5 separate regions of the Homo sapiens genome follow, and regions 2, 3, 4 and 5 are each linked to region 1. Evidence: promoter capture Hi-C in 16 types of primary human blood cells and fetal thymus (Javierre and others, 2016). All regions are on one chromosome and are shown on one strand. Each heading gives the region's core, a stretch centred on a gene start or on the middle of the fragment in contact. The rest is flanking DNA. Distances are from core to core; before and after follow the strand shown. Region 1 holds the start of SUGP1 (SURP and G-patch domain containing 1). Region 2 overlaps SLC25A42 (solute carrier family 25 member 42). Region 3 overlaps GATAD2A (GATA zinc finger domain containing 2A). Region 4 has its middle 4.4 kb from the start of TMEM161A. Region 5 overlaps GATAD2A (GATA zinc finger domain containing 2A).

Region 1 (2,802 bases), core at 303-2,802:
ACCTGTAATCCCAGCACCTGGGAGGCTGAAGCAGGCAGATCACTTGAGGTCAGGAGATCGAGACCAGCCTGGCCAACATGGTGATACCCCGTCTCTACTAAAAATACACAAAAACACTGGCCAGGTGCGGTGGCCGGCGCCTGTAATCCCAGCTACTCAGGAGGCTGAGGCAGAAGAATGGCTTGAACCCGGGAGGTAGAGGTTGCAGTCAGCCGACATCGTGCCACTGCACTCCAGCCTGGGCGACAGAGCGAAACTCCGCTTCAACAAAAAGAAAAAAAGAATTCTAAAAGGCCATTTTCAAGGCCCCGCCAGATGGTTCCCCTCCCTTCTGCTTCATCCTTGACATTCTTCAAAAGGACAAGCCCATCCTACCAGGGCCTCTGCATTTACTGGCCCCCCTCTGTGTGGAAGGCTCCACCCTCCAGGGATTCCCATAGCTGGCATTCATTGTCTTAACTCAAATGTCCTCTGCTTGAAAAGGCCTTTCCCTGGGCCAGGTGTGGTGGCTCACACCTTTACGTAACCCCAGCACTTTAAGAGGCTGAGATGGGAGGATCGCTTGAGCCTAGGAATTCCAGACCTGCATGGGAAACGTGGCAACACAAAAAACACACAAATTCGCTGTGTGGTGGCGCGCATCTGTGGTCTCAGCTACTAGGGAGGCTGAGGTGGGAGGATCACCTGAACCCAGGGAGCCACAGTGAGCCACTGCACTACAGCCTGGGCGACAAAGTGAGACCCTGTCTCAAAAAAAAAAAAAAAAAAAAAAAGAAAGAAAGAAAGAAAAGGTCTTTCCTGACTACCCAATATCAGAAGCCTCCACTCTGATCATATCATACGTAACCTCACATCATACGTAAGTTTTTGTAAATATTTTCTCATTAATGCACTGACACCCCAGTAGAAAGCAACCTCCAGGAAGGCAGGGCCCTGTTTCGGTCACCGCTGCATGCGTAGCGCCCAGCACACTGCTTGGCACACAGTGAGCACGCCCTAAGTATCTGCTGATGGGTAAATGCATTCTATTCTGGGGAAGCAGAAAGGCCAAGGCTTGCAGCAAAGTGAGGGTCAAAAGACGCGGGAAAGTGTGTCAAGGGAGCCTCAAAGCACTTCGGAAAAGCAGCTTTTCCAGAAAGCGGGACACAGGCCAGAGGCCAGCTGCGACGAAAAGAGGGGTGCAGGGACAGCCCAAGGTTGTCGCCGTATTGGGGAACGGAGGTTGGAGCAGCCCTGAAGGCGGTTGTTTCGGAAACGGGACGCAGGGCCGAGCCGGGTGGCGGCCTCTACGGAGATCCGTGCGTCCTCAGCAAACCAAGCGGGGGCGGCCAGCAACCTGGGTCTGGGGTCTCGAGAAACCAAGAGGTGCAGAAGCCGACGCTGTGGGCTGCCCCGGGGCTGAAGCGAGGGATCCACGGGTCGCAGCAGGACGGACCCGAGGAGTCAGGGGAGACACCTAGCCCCAGGGACCCAGGCGGCCGCCTGAGAGGAGGCGGGGGCTGTTACCTGCAACATCCCGGTTGTCCATCTTGAGACTCATCCAATCCCACAATGCTCCGGCGCCCCTTAAGGGGCCCTGTTATAGTGTGCATCGCCTGATGGGAGATGTAGTCCGCCTCGGTCAGACTCGCCCTATTACTGCGTGAACGACTGGGTTTTTTTTTTTTTAACCTCCAGAAACGGAAGCCTCAGCCTATCAGCGATGCCTAAGTCCCAGTCACGATAACCAAACGGCGTCGCCCTTTTACACCTTCCCGGAGCGGCAGTCATCCCAAATACAAACTACATGTTCCAGGATGCTTTGGGCGGCAGATCTCGCGGAAGCCGCGAGGAGAGCCCGGCCCCGTCTCGCGCGCCTGCTTCCGCCTCCCTGTGGCGGCGGCTTGTTGTTGTGGAGGCCAAAATGGCGGCTCAGGCGGCGGCAGCGGCCCAGGCGGCGGCGGCCCAGGCTGCGCAGGCCGAGGCGGCCGACTCGTGGTACCTGGCGCTTCTGGGCTTCGCTGAGCACTTCCGCACTTCCAGCCCGCCCAAAATCCGCCTGTGCGTGCACTGCCTGCAGGCCGTGTTCCCCTTCAAGCCGCCGCAGCGCATCGAGGCCCGTACACACCTGCAGCTGGGCTCCGTTCTCTATCACCACACCAAGAACAGCGAGCAGGCGCGCAGCCACCTGGAGAAGGCGGTGAGCGCGGGCCGGGCCGCGAGGGAGGAGTCGCGGGCTCCTTGCAAGATCTGGGCTGACGGGTCGCGACCGCGGCGGGTGGGGGGCCGCTCCTCGGCGACCTGGGGGCGCGACCTCCGTCAAAGCCGCAGGACCCCCACCCGCCTCTGCCGGACCCCAAAGCCACCAGCCTCTCAAGGGACACGAAAGCCTCGCCCCCCACGCCTTATTTCCCGTTTCTGGTGACAGGGCTCCAGGAGCCCCGTCACCGTACTCTGAAAGTTGCCTGTTATTGGGAGCAACAGGATCCGCAAATCGTCTGGTTTTCAGGAGGATCCCACCTGTTGGTGGCGATGGGGACATCACAGGGTCCTGAAGCTATTAGCTCCTCCTGGTTCAGCTTCCGGAGCATCAGCCCCAAACGCTTCCACCTAAAGTGACTTGGGGTAGGGGTTGGCGAAGGCGAGACCCCTGGCATTCTCCCGGGAATCTGAAGTCTGGTCTCTCAGGAACCTGGAAGGGCATGATTCTCCTTGGACACAGAAGTTTGGTAATCGTGGTTTTTGGAGGGTCTTGTGCCCCCATCAATAATGCCTGGTGTCGTACGAGGGAAGCTGAGACCCGGAGTCTGGAGTTGGTCATTT
Region 2 (2,802 bases), core at 107-2,606, 230 kb before region 1:
GGGAAGGTGACTTTGCAGAACATGTCCAGGCCACCTGACCCAGCACCTCGATTCTAGGAATCAAGGAGTAGAGAGGCTGCGCCGTTCTCACCCAAGCGCCCAAGTGCAAGGACAGCCCCCAGGGTCTGTAGCGGCAGGGGTGGTGCTGGGCAGTAGTCAGACATGGCTGATTGTTGTGGGGGGCGGAGTGAAACAGACGCAGTGCATCCCATGGGCTGATGATGAAAGATGCCGACCCCCAGCAACCGGCTGGGAAAGGTCTTTAGGACCTGGTTTCTGTCTGTTTGCAAGCAGTTTAGTTTATTTTTATTTTTTGAGACCCAGTCTTGCTCTGTCACCTGCGCTGGAGTGTACTGCTGAAATCACGGCTCATTGAAGCCTCAACCTCTTTGGCTCAGGTGACCTTCTCACCTCAGCCTCTCGAGTACCTGGGACCACAGGTGCATGCCATCATATCCAACTAATTTTTTTCTCTAGAGACGGGGTCTCACTATGTTGCCCAGGCTTGTCTCAAACTCCTGGGCTCAAGCGATCCTCCTACCTCAGCCTCTCAAAGTGCTGGGATTCCAGGTGCGTGCCACCACGCCCAGCTGAGAGCAGTTTTAGATTTACAGAAAAATTGCAAAGGCTGTACCAAGTTCCCCGACACCGCACACATCTAGCGTCCCTTACGCATAACCTCTCACAGTGCTGTGCTGCATTTGCCTCACTAATGAACAAGTGCTGAGATGGTATTAATATTAATGGAGCTCCACACTTTATTCACGTTCTTCCATTTTTCCTGAATGTCCTTTCTCTGTCCAAGGATCCCACCTGATCTTTAGTCCTCACATCTCCTTAGACTCCTCTGGGCTGAGACGGTTTCTCAGGCTCTTTGTTTTTGGTGACCGTTACAGTTTTGGGGAGCAGTGGTCAGGGCTGCTGGAGAATGCCCCTCCGGTGGGATGTGTCTGGTGTTTTTTCCTTTCTTTCGAGACAGAGTCTCGCTGTGTCACCCAGGCTGGAATGCAGTGGCGTGATCTCGGCTCACTGCACCCTCCACCTCCTGGGTTCAAGTGATTCTTCTGACTCAGCCTCCTGAGTAGCTGAGATTACAGGTGCCTGCCACCATGCCTGGCCAATTTTTGTATTTTTAGTAGAGACAGGATTTTGCCAGGTTGGCCAGGCTGGTCTTAAACTCCTGAGCTCGTGATCTGCCCGCCTCAGCCTCCCAAAGTGCTGGGATTACAGGCGTGAGCCACTGCGCCCAGCCTGATGTTTTTCTCACGGTCAGATGGGGTGATGGATCTGGGGGAGGAAGACCCTAGTCGTCACACTCCATCAGAGGCACATGCGTCCACCTGACTTATCCCAGCCAGCGTTGTCCTGGATCACCTAGCCCAGCTGGGATCCATCAGGTTTCTGTGCTGCAGTCACTGACAGCCCCCTTTCCAGACTGCACTCTTTGGAAAGAAGCCGCTAAGCGCAGCCACACCTGAGGGCAGGAGGCATGGCCCCTCTTGGAGGTCCGAGCTGCTGTGCTATTTGGGAATCCTTTGCCTGGGAGATTTGTCTCTTCCCTACCATGTACTTACTTACTCTGTCATTTCTTTATATTATATGGACTCATGGTTATTTTATAGTTCAGGCTTTCATCCATGATGCTTTATGTTTTTTTCCATTTCTACTCAAACTGTTCCAGCTTTGGCCATCAAGGGTTCTTTCGGTGGGTGCCCATGACCCCCTCGCCACACCCATCTGCTTTGGTTTCTGTTTCTGAACATGCCCTCCATGACTGGCACCTCCACGTACGTGCTCTAGGCTCTTCCTTTCTCTCTGGCCCCATCTTTGAAGCAGGTGTTTCTCCCAGAGCCAGTGCCCATGGGTCCATGTTCACTAGGAGAGTCAGCAGTGGAGGCTGGTGTAGCAGAATCCCAAGTGCACTTTGTACAGCGTCACTCACCGGCACTGATGCCTGCTCTGGGGCCTCTGCACCCTTTGCTTCACTTTGCAGTAATGCGTTTTCATTTACTGGATGATTTTAAAGCGTGGGAACTAACCAGGCACGGTGGCCATGCCTGGAATCCCAGCATTTTGGGAGGCTGAGGCCAGAGGATCGCTTGAGCCCAGGAGTTCCAGACCAGCCTGGGCAACATAGTGAGTCACTGTCTCTACAAAATATAAAATGAAAAATAAAAATTAGCCAACCCAGTCGGACGCGGTGGCTCATGCTTGTAATCCCAGCACTTTGGGAGGCCACGTTAGGAGGATCACACGAGGCCAGGAATTCAAAACCAGCCTGGCCAACATGGCAAAACCCTAGCTCTACTAAAAATAAAAAAATAAAAAATAGCTGGGTTTGGTAGTAAACGTCTGTAATCCCAGGTACTTGAGAGGCTGAGGCACAAGAATTACTTGAACCTGGAAGGCGGAGGCTGCAGTGAACCGAGATCATGCCACTGCATTCCAGCCTGGGCTACAGAGGGAGATTCTGTCAAAGCAAAAACAAAAACAAAAAAAAACACCCTTAGCTGACCAAGTGGGAGGATCACTTGGGCTCAGGAATTTGAGGCTGCAGTGAGCTATGATTGTTCTACTGCACTTGAGCCTGGGTGGGGGAAAAAAAAAAGGCCAGGTGCGGTGGCTCATGCCTGTAATCCCAGCACTTTGGGAGGCTAAGGCAGGCAGATCACCTGAGGTCAGGAGTTCGAGACTAGCCTGGCCAACATGGTGAAACCCCATCTCTACTAAAAATAAAAAATTAGCTGGGTGTGGTAGCAGGCGCCTGTAGTCCCAGCTACTTGGGAGGCTGAAGCACAAGAA
Region 3 (2,802 bases), core at 103-2,602, 190 kb after region 1:
AATGGGTGGCTATACGTTGTATCACGAGGAAGTTTTAGACTCTGAAGGATAATAAATGGATGATGTGTCAACTGGACTTTTCTTTTGTCCCTTCTGCCCTGGCTTCTCTGTATTGTTTCGTCCTAGCTTCCCAGGCAGGTTGGAGGGAGATGGAGGATGACCCTTAGTTAATGAGAGAAGCAAAGGGCGGGGTGCATCTGCTGCTGGGGCCTCACTTACTGTGGGGATGGAGTCCCCACGGCCCCTCTCCTCTGGAGCTTTGTGGCAAACTTACCCCATGGGCTGGGAGAGAGGAATGAGAATCTCAGTGGGGGCTGGGTTTGGTGGCTCACATTTGTAATCCCAGCACTTTGAGAGGCTGAGGTGGGTGGATCACCTGAGGTCAGGAGTTCGATACCAGCCTGGCCAACATGGTGAAACCCCATCTCTACTAAAAATACAAAAATTGGCCGGATGTGGTGGTGGGTGCCTGTACCCCAGCTACTTGGGAGGCTGAGGCAGGAGAATCGCATGAACCCGGGAGGCAGAGGTTGCAGTGAGCCAAGATTGCGCCACTGCACTATAGCCTGGGTAAGAGACCGTGACTTTCTCAAAAAAAAAAAAAAATTCTCAGTGGAATTTGCTTGTGTTTGCTGCATCAGCCTTCACGCTAGAGTGGTGGGTTTTCCTGGAGCAATTTTCAGGCTGGGGGCCTCGATGGTGTCTTTGCTGCAGGATGTGATATTACAGATGTGCAATCTAAGCACAGAGTCACCAACCTGGATCCAAAATGAACGACGTCCTGGCAAAAATGTTTTCAAGTGTTGATAGTTTCAAGTTTTATTCTTAAGGTGAGACCTGGGATCATTTTGCTGAATTTTAATGTGCATAAAACATGACCCTGTTTTCCTAGGTGCTATTTATTTGAGGCAGGGTCTCACTCTGTTGCCCAGGCTGGAATGCAGTGGCTTGATCTCAGCTCACTGCAGCCTCAACCTCCCTAGGCTCAGGTGATCCTCACATCTCAGACTCCTCAGTAGCTGGGACTATGGGCATGCACCACCATGCCCAGCTAATTTTCGTATTTTTTGCAAAGACACATTTTTGCCATGTTGCCCATGGCTGGTCTTGAACTCCTGGACTCAAGCAGTCCTCTCACCTTGGCCTCCCAAAGTGCTGGGATTACAGGTGTGAGTCACCACGCTTGGCCGTTTCTTGTCTTTGAAGCATCCTTGCCTCCGGCCTGGGAGCTCATACCTTCCCCACAACTCCCAAGTGCCTGGTCTTATGGGCACAGAGCTGGTAGAGAACATGGTAGAAACTGAACCTCAGCCTGTCCAGTAGCGCGATCTTGGCTCATTGCAACCTCCGCCTCCCAGGTTCTAGCGATTCTTCTGCCTCAGCCTCCCGAGTAGCTGGGATTACAGGTGCCGCCACCAGCACGCCCAGTTAATTTTCAGTAGAGATGGGGTTTCACGTGTTGGCCAGGCTGGTCTCAAACTCCTGATGTGATCCACCGGTCTCAGCCTCCCAAAGTACTGGGATGACAGGCGTGAGCCACTGCACCCAGCCACTTTTTTTTTTTTTTTTTTTTGAGATAGGCTCTCTGTTGCCCAAGCTAGAGTGCCTAGAGGCTCTCTGTTGCCCAGGCTCAGGCGATCCTCCCACCTCAGCCTACCGTGTAGCTGGGGCCAGAGGCTTGCTACAGGCATTTCTTGCTTGGCCTGAGAAACATTCCTATGGGGTGCTGTCTCCTGGGCTTGGCTCTTGGTTCCTCGTGAGGCTCTGCTTCCCTGGATTGGGCACAGGCTTGTCAGTGCAGTTGGGGCAGATTCAAGGGGCGGGTCCTGGGTCATGGTCTCAAATAGCCTCTCCAGCTGAGAAAATGGGACACTCCCCTCGTCCCTGACATCTTGTCCCCGACATCTCATCCTCTCTGAATTGAGCCTTGGGTCTGTGGCCACATGGCAGGCAGAGACCCTGACCCCATCTGCTCCCACAGATTCGTCGGTGGACAGATGGCATGCACTATGCCCTGGGCCCCGGAGATGTGGCAGGAGCTATCCAGACAGAAACATATAGCACCTTGAGAGGAGGGCATGGGGTGACATTTTAGGCAAGGCTTGAAGAGGGGAAAAGTGCCAGGAGTGTGCAAAGGCTTGGAGATAGGAGCCAGCATGGCAGGTCAAGAACAAAAAGGGCAATGTGGTGGGACTGGGTGGGAAGACGGGGCAAGGGCGTGGGTTTTAGCTAAGTGCAGTGGGAGTCTAGGGAAGGTCCTGGGCCCAGTACTCAAGCTACGCCCACTCTGAAGCCATGCCCACTACCCCAAGGATGGGGTTTTGCCCATTTTCCAAGTGGGGAGTCTGAGGCATGGCCCCAGTCAGGAGCAGCACCCTTCGAATAAACCAGAGGGGCTAGGGGCTAGGTTTTATTTTATTTATTTATTTTTTCTTTTGAGGCAGAGTCTTGCTCTGCTGCCCAGGCTGGAGTGCATTGGTGGGATCTTGGCTCACTGCATCCTCCATTTTCCGGGTTCAAGTGATTCTCCTGACTCAGGCTCCCCAGTAGCTAGGACTACAGGTGCAAGCCACCCATGCCCGACTAAATTTTGTATTTTTAGTAGAGATGGGGTTTTACCATGTTAGCCAGGCTGGTCTCAAACGCCTGACCTCAAGTGATCCGCCTCCCAAAGTGCTGGGATTACAGGTGTGAGCCACCATGCCCGGCCCCAGGAGCTGGGTTTTCTACCTCCACTCTGATGTGGTCCAGCCAAGACTGGAGGCTAGGCACTGCCCCTCTTTTAGCCTCGGTTTCCTCATC
Region 4 (2,802 bases), core at 135-2,634, 180 kb before region 1:
GAGCTATTTGGGAAGGACGAGAATCGTTTGAACCCGGGAGGCAGAAGCTGCAGTGAGCCGAGATCCCGCCACTGCACTCCAGCCTGGGCAACAGAGTGAGACTTTGTCTCAGAACAAAAAAACAAAAAAAAAAACCCAATAATAATAAAAACAAAATTAGGCCAGGAGCGGTGGCTCACACCTGTAATCCCAGCACTTTGGGAGACCGAGGTGGGTGGATTACCTGAGGTCAGGAGTTTGAGACCAGCCTTGCCAACATAGTGAAACCCCGTCTCCACTAAAGATACAAAAAATTAGCTGAGCATGGTGGCACATGCCTGTAGTCCCAGCTACTCAGGAGGCTGAGGCAGGAGAATCGCTTGAACCTGGGAGGCAGAGGCTGCAGTGAGCCGAGATCGTGCCATTGCACTCCAGCCTGCATGACAGAGCGAGACTCTCTCTCAAAACAAAAAACAAAAACAAAACAAAATAATAAAAATAAGTAAGTAGAAAAGAAAAAGAAAAAAGACCTGAGTCTGGGTTGGGTGAGCGAAATCTCTAGCCGCACTTGGACACTCTGCAGAGGCTTCAAGTTCACCCCATCCAAGTCTCATTCCCTACAAGCTTCCACAGCACAGAGGATGAAATGGGAGCTTCCAGTCACCCACGGCACGCTCTTCCCTTCACCTCCACCTCCGAGCCGTTCTGGAGTCCTGGTGGGTTTGCCTCCACGCACACACAGAGAGTGATCATTCCAGGGGGCACTGCCTCCCCTCAGCTCCCAATGCCCCCTGCCACGGGAGCCTGGGGAGGGGCTTTTACACACTTTGATCATGCCATATCCCTATCCTGGAAACTGGGGCCCCAAAGCCCCCACCTCACTGGGGATGAGGGTGGCGAAGATGACGTAGGACAAACCTTAGCTGGGGTCTGGGGTGCAGATGGCATCCTATACTCCGCCGTATAAACAAGTGCCCCCTCCGGGTTCTGTCACTTATATACTTTGTCCAGTCTCCCTATCCCTTAAAAGGCGTCCCGCCCATCATCTTGTCTAGGACTGTGTGCGCTAAGGGTGAAATGCAAGGTGCTCAGTTTTACTGAAGAAATCTCTCCCTGGGGCGCTGAGTGACAGAAAGGATTTTGAAATTGTCAGTCAACGTACCCCGCCCATTCTGGCTGAGCTGTGCCAACCAGCTCAGCTTTGGATCTTGGCAGAGTGATTGGAAAGCAGGTGAGTTTGTTTGTTTGTTTGGTTTTTGAGATAGAGTCTTGCTCTGTTGCCCAGGCTGGAGTGCAGTGGCGCGATTTCGGCTCACTGCAACCTCCACTTCCCGGGTTCAAGTGATTCTCCTGCCTCAGCCTCCTGAGTATCTGGGACTACAGGCACACACTACCATGCCCGGCTAATTTTCGTATTTTTAATAGAGACGAGGTTTCACCACATTGGTCAGGCTGGTCTCGAACTCCTGACCTCAAGTGATCCACCTGCCTCAGCCTCCCAAAGTGCTGGGATTACAGGTGTGAGCCACCATGCCCGGCCTGTTTTTGTTTTTGTTTTTTTACTCTTTGAGACGGGGTCTTTTGCTCTGTTGCCCAGGCTGGAGTGCAGTGGCTCAATCATGGCTCACTGCAGCCTTGACTTCCCGGGCTCAGGTGATTCTCCCACCTCAGCCTCCTGAGAAGCTGGGACTAGAGGTGTGCACTGCCACGCCTGGCTAATTTTTTTTTTTTTTTAAGAGATGGGATTCACCATGTTGCCCAAGCTAGTCTTGAACTCCTGGGCTTAGGCCATCCTCCCACCTCAGCCTCTCAAAGTATTTGGATTACAGGGGTGAGCCACTGTCCCCGGCCAAGGCGGATCTTGTAAGTCTTGATCTCAACACTCATGTTTTCCGTCTTCCTGTCCAAATCTGTGAACTCCAACTCACAAAGGTGTTTCTCAGCTTGGGACAGTGTAGAAGGCGTCATGGAGGAAGAGAGGCAGAGCTGGGCCTTGGAGGGTGGGAAGGAGTTTAAAAAGGAGACAAGTTGGGGGTTGAGGGAGGCGCTCCAGGAAAGACCAGTAGGGTCACATGTTGGTACTGCAAATATTTCTAAGGTACTGGAGAGGCTGGGACAGGGATAGGAGACCAGGCCAGACTAGGGTAGGGCAGCTGAGGAGCCCAACTTCCTTCTAAGGATGAGGAAAAGCTTCAAAGAGATGAGCAGAACATGGCAGAGGCAGATCTTTTAAATTTTATTACTGTTATTTTTAGAGACAATGTCTTGTTCTGTCACTCAGGCTGGATTGTAGTGGGCTGGTAATAGCCCACTGCAGCCTCCAACTCCTGGGCTCAAGGCATCCTTCCTCCTCAGCCTCCCAAAGGACTGGGATTACAGGCAAGAAGTAATTTTTTTTTTTTTTTTTTTTTTGAGACGGAGTCTTGCTCTGTTGTGCAGGCTGGAATGCAGTGGCACGATCTGGATCTCGGCTAACTGCAACCACCACCTCTTGAGTTCAAGTGATTCTCGTGCCTCGGCCTCCCAAGTAGCTGGGATTACAGGCATGGGCCATGAGGCCCAGCTAATTTTTGTATTTTTAGTAGAGATGGTCTCAAATTTCTGGCCTCAAGTGATCTGCCCGCCTTGGCCCCCCAAAGTGCTAGGATTACAGGTGTGAGCCACCGTGCCCGGCTAGAAGTCAGTTTTTTATGTTGTCGTTGTTTTTGATGTTATTTTTGAGATAGGGTCTCGCTCTGTTGCCCACGGTGGAGTGCAATGGCTCAATCACAGCTTGCTGCAGCCTCGACTTCCTATGCTCAGGCAATTCTCCCACCTCAGCCT
Region 5 (2,802 bases), core at 96-2,595, 140 kb after region 1:
GACAGACAACCTGTTAGTGAGCAGTTCAGATGGGGTTTATGGGCAAGGCATGTCGGAGGAAGGAAGGACAGAGACCATAGAACTTCAGGGCTGAGAGGGACACCGTAGCATTCCTCACCTCCCCCAGAGAAGTGAGGCCATGACCTCCACATTCGACCTCTACCTGGGCTCCATTCCACGGAGGAGCTGAGGGGCAGCTGAGCAGGAGCGGGGGCGGGGGTGGACAGGGTGGCCGGGGGCAGCGGAGGCCGCACAGTTGGTGTGGGATAGGTGGTAGGTGCAGGCTGGGATGCCAGAGGGGCTGGGGACAGGTGGAGGCAAGTCTGAAAACCTGTGCCCTTGAGATTCGGAGTCTCCCTGCCTCAGCCTGGTCATGTTAAGGGTCAGCCATGGCACCTGGGTGGTGGTGAGACAGGGTAGGGAGCACAGAGCTGCTCTGGGCCTGTGTGAAGCACCAGGGATTTCCTGGCCTTGAGGAGACCCCAGTGTTTCAAGCCGGTGCCCGGGTGCCCTGGCTGGACCACACTGGCACAACACGCATGTAGACGGCCTGCTTTCCCTCTGGCTCCAGGAGCGTGAAGCAGCTGTCTCTTTCTTTCCTTTCAGTTTGAGTGCATGAGGGGGCACATTTGGGCAGGGCCTTGCGCTATTGCTCATTTGTGAAATTGGCTCCTTTAAGGAAGCTGCAGATGAGTCAGCTCTGGAGTGCGTCCCATGGATGGCGACAGGACCCCTGTGTTGCCTTGTGCTGCCCCCAGCTTCCAGACGGTCTGCCTGGCTCTACCTGGGACAGGCTTCCCCAGGGTGTTTGCCAGTGAGGAAACTAAGGCTCTGGCAAGATGAGTGCCCTGCCTGTGAGGACACAGATAGGACCAGAGGGCTTCAGCATAGAGCATGCCACAGGTGTGAATTGGGGTTCTCTGTGGGGCCCAAGTGGGCACCAACTGTCCCATGGAAAACTGTGACACTTCGGGAATTCCACTAGAGCTCAGCTGCTAAATTTCTCTTTTGTCCTCTGGTAAACACTGGGATGCTTTTTTAAGAACCTGACTCTCTCTGTCTCAATTCCTGTGCCCTGTCCTGTTGGGACGTCGAGGCCGGGATTAGAGCAGCCCCTTTAAGAGTGCCAGTGTCCCAGACCCTGCTGTGGAATGCCAGCCGCCTCCCTGCAGACAGACATCGCTGTGCTGTCGTCCTGTCTCCGTGAGGGTTAACAACACTTCAGCCTGTTGTCTGGAACCGGTTCAGACTGGTTTTCTGGAAAGTGCTTTGTCTCTCCGACTGAATCCTGGGAAGGGTCATGTGGAGCCAGTGATGTCATGGGATCAAAAACTGACTCAGCTGTTTTTTTCTTCTTTTTCTTTCTTCTTTAAATCAAGATATGTGTGTGCTGCAGGTACAGGGCAGTGGCACGTTGATGGGCCAGGCCTCACTCTACTCAAAGTGTACCTCACTGGCAACCAAAGGGTTAAATGTGATCCCCAGTCCCCACTCCCCAGAGGTGAGCAGGGAGTGAGGAGACCTCCCTTCCCTGAAGGGGAGAAGCTGGGGTTAACTCGAGTCACCACAGCATAGGGCTAGTCCCAGGCCCCGACCCTGCTCCTGGAACAGTGCAGTCACCGCCCTCCTGGATTCCAGACATTGCAGGTGCTGAAAATCCCAAAGGCAGGTAGTTGAGATCTAGAACAACTTTTCCTCTGTTTGCTGTTGAGCCTTTCCTTGCTGATAAGCAGCCACCTTCCACTGCTCCTGTTCAGCACCCTGCTGCCTCTGGCCCCCAACAGGGCAGGGTGTAGTTTGGCTCCACCAATGTTCAGCCACACAGTGGAGGCTGGGGACACCCCCCTCCTGCCTAGCCTTCCTCAAGGCAGTGATGAAATGTCCTGGGGATGCTTTTCTGGGCCCTGCGTTTGTTGTACATTCTTTTGCCATCCTTCCCATAGGGAGGAAAACACTGAAAGCAACACTGAAAAGTCTCCAAGAAGGTGGCACCTTCATTGCACCCAGTTAAAATGTTGTGTCTTCTCCTCCCTCCCAAGTTCAGAATGACCGAAGAAGCATGCCGAACACGGAGTCAGAAACGAGCGCTTGAACGGGACCCAACAGAGGACGATGTGGAGAGCAAGAAAATAAAAATGGAGAGAGGATTGTTGGCTTCAGATTTAAACACTGACGGAGACATGAGGGTGACACCTGAGCCGGGAGCAGGTCCAACCCAAGGATTGCTGAGGGCAACAGAGGCCACGGCCATGGCCATGGGCAGAGGCGAAGGGCTGGTGGGCGATGGGCCCGTGGACATGCGCACCTCACACAGGTGAGTGGGAGGAGCCAGCGGGAGGGGCTGGAACCTGGAGACAAGCCCAGTGTGCCCAGGTTGGGGCTGGCCACACTCCAGGCCTGTTGGTAACAGCTTGGCGGGGTTGTGGAGAGGGCTGTAGGCTCAGCTCGGGCATCACCCACCACTGGCAGCTGTGCTGTTGTGGCCATTCCAGGGCCCCAGGTCCCAACTGCAAGTGGCACAGAGTGTGGGTCTCACAGGAGAAGGAGTGGCACATTCCATCAGCTCCCCTGCCATCAGTAGGCCTTTGCCACCCACGCACCTGCTGTCTGTCCAACTCGGTGCTTTTGGTTTGTAGGGACACTTGAGTTATTCATTTGGTTATGCTTCCCTGCTTTTCAGATCTAGAGGTCAGAGGGCCAGGAATGCTACACCTACCTTGGTCACTTGGCTAGGGATAGAGTTGGGAGCCCAGCCCAGGGCACCCTCCTCGGAGCGGGTACGGGATGCTCACTCGACTCCAT

Evidence for each region. The method cuts DNA at HindIII sites, captures the fragments that hold promoters and counts their contacts. A CHiCAGO score of 5 or more calls a contact.
Region 2: a fragment that was not itself captured here is called in contact with the fragment with the promoter of SUGP1 in region 1 in 2 of 17 cell types (M1 macrophages and M0 macrophages); the score reaches 6.8 in M1 macrophages.
Region 3: a fragment that was not itself captured here is called in contact with the fragment with the promoter of SUGP1 in region 1 in 6 of 17 cell types (neutrophils, monocytes, fetal thymus and 3 more); the score reaches 9.8 in neutrophils.
Region 4: a contact is called between a fragment that was not itself captured here and the fragment with the promoter of SUGP1 in region 1, in 6 of 17 cell types (M1 macrophages, M0 macrophages, neutrophils and 3 more). The highest score is 9.2, in M1 macrophages.
Region 5: a contact is called between a fragment that was not itself captured here and the fragment with the promoter of SUGP1 in region 1, in 1 of 17 cell types (monocytes). The highest score is 7.0, in monocytes.

Annotation. Positions count from the first base shown.
Region 1 is chr19:19,318,957-19,321,758 of GRCh38, forward strand. SUGP1 (SURP and G-patch domain containing 1) reads right to left here and starts at 1,553. Exons shown (of 14, transcript NM_172231.4): 1 at 1,507-1,553. The coding sequence starts at 1,540. It overlaps MAU2 (MAU2 sister chromatid cohesion factor), which reads left to right and starts at 1,873. Exons shown (of 19, transcript NM_015329.4): 1 at 1,873-2,179. The coding sequence starts at 1,904. RefSeq lists enhancers at 1,421-1,470, 1,491-1,980, 1,689-2,660 and a silencer at 2,032-2,253. The HindIII fragment of the contact is 18,112 bases long and covers 1-2,802 here.
Region 2 is chr19:19,092,724-19,095,525 of GRCh38, forward strand. All of the region lies in intron 1 of SLC25A42 (solute carrier family 25 member 42), which reads left to right. Among named protein-coding and RNA genes, the nearest start is that of SLC25A42, 30 kb to the left of the region's middle. RefSeq lists an enhancer at 2,055-2,554. The HindIII fragment of the contact is 6,803 bases long and covers 1-2,802 here.
Region 3 is chr19:19,508,857-19,511,658 of GRCh38, forward strand. It overlaps GATAD2A (GATA zinc finger domain containing 2A), which reads left to right. Exons shown (of 12, transcript NM_001384528.1): 12 at 1-76. Among named protein-coding and RNA genes, the nearest start is that of TSSK6, 5.3 kb to the right of the region's middle. The HindIII fragment of the contact is 3,522 bases long and covers 1-2,802 here.
Region 4 is chr19:19,141,440-19,144,241 of GRCh38, forward strand. No RefSeq gene overlaps it. Among named protein-coding and RNA genes, the nearest start is that of TMEM161A, 4.4 kb to the left of the region's middle. The HindIII fragment of the contact is 1,566 bases long and covers 602-2,167 here.
Region 5 is chr19:19,463,301-19,466,102 of GRCh38, forward strand. It overlaps GATAD2A (GATA zinc finger domain containing 2A), which reads left to right. Exons shown (of 12, transcript NM_001384528.1): 2 at 2,040-2,314. The coding sequence starts at 2,046. Among named protein-coding and RNA genes, the nearest start is that of MIR640, 30 kb to the left of the region's middle. The HindIII fragment of the contact is 3,138 bases long and covers 1-2,802 here.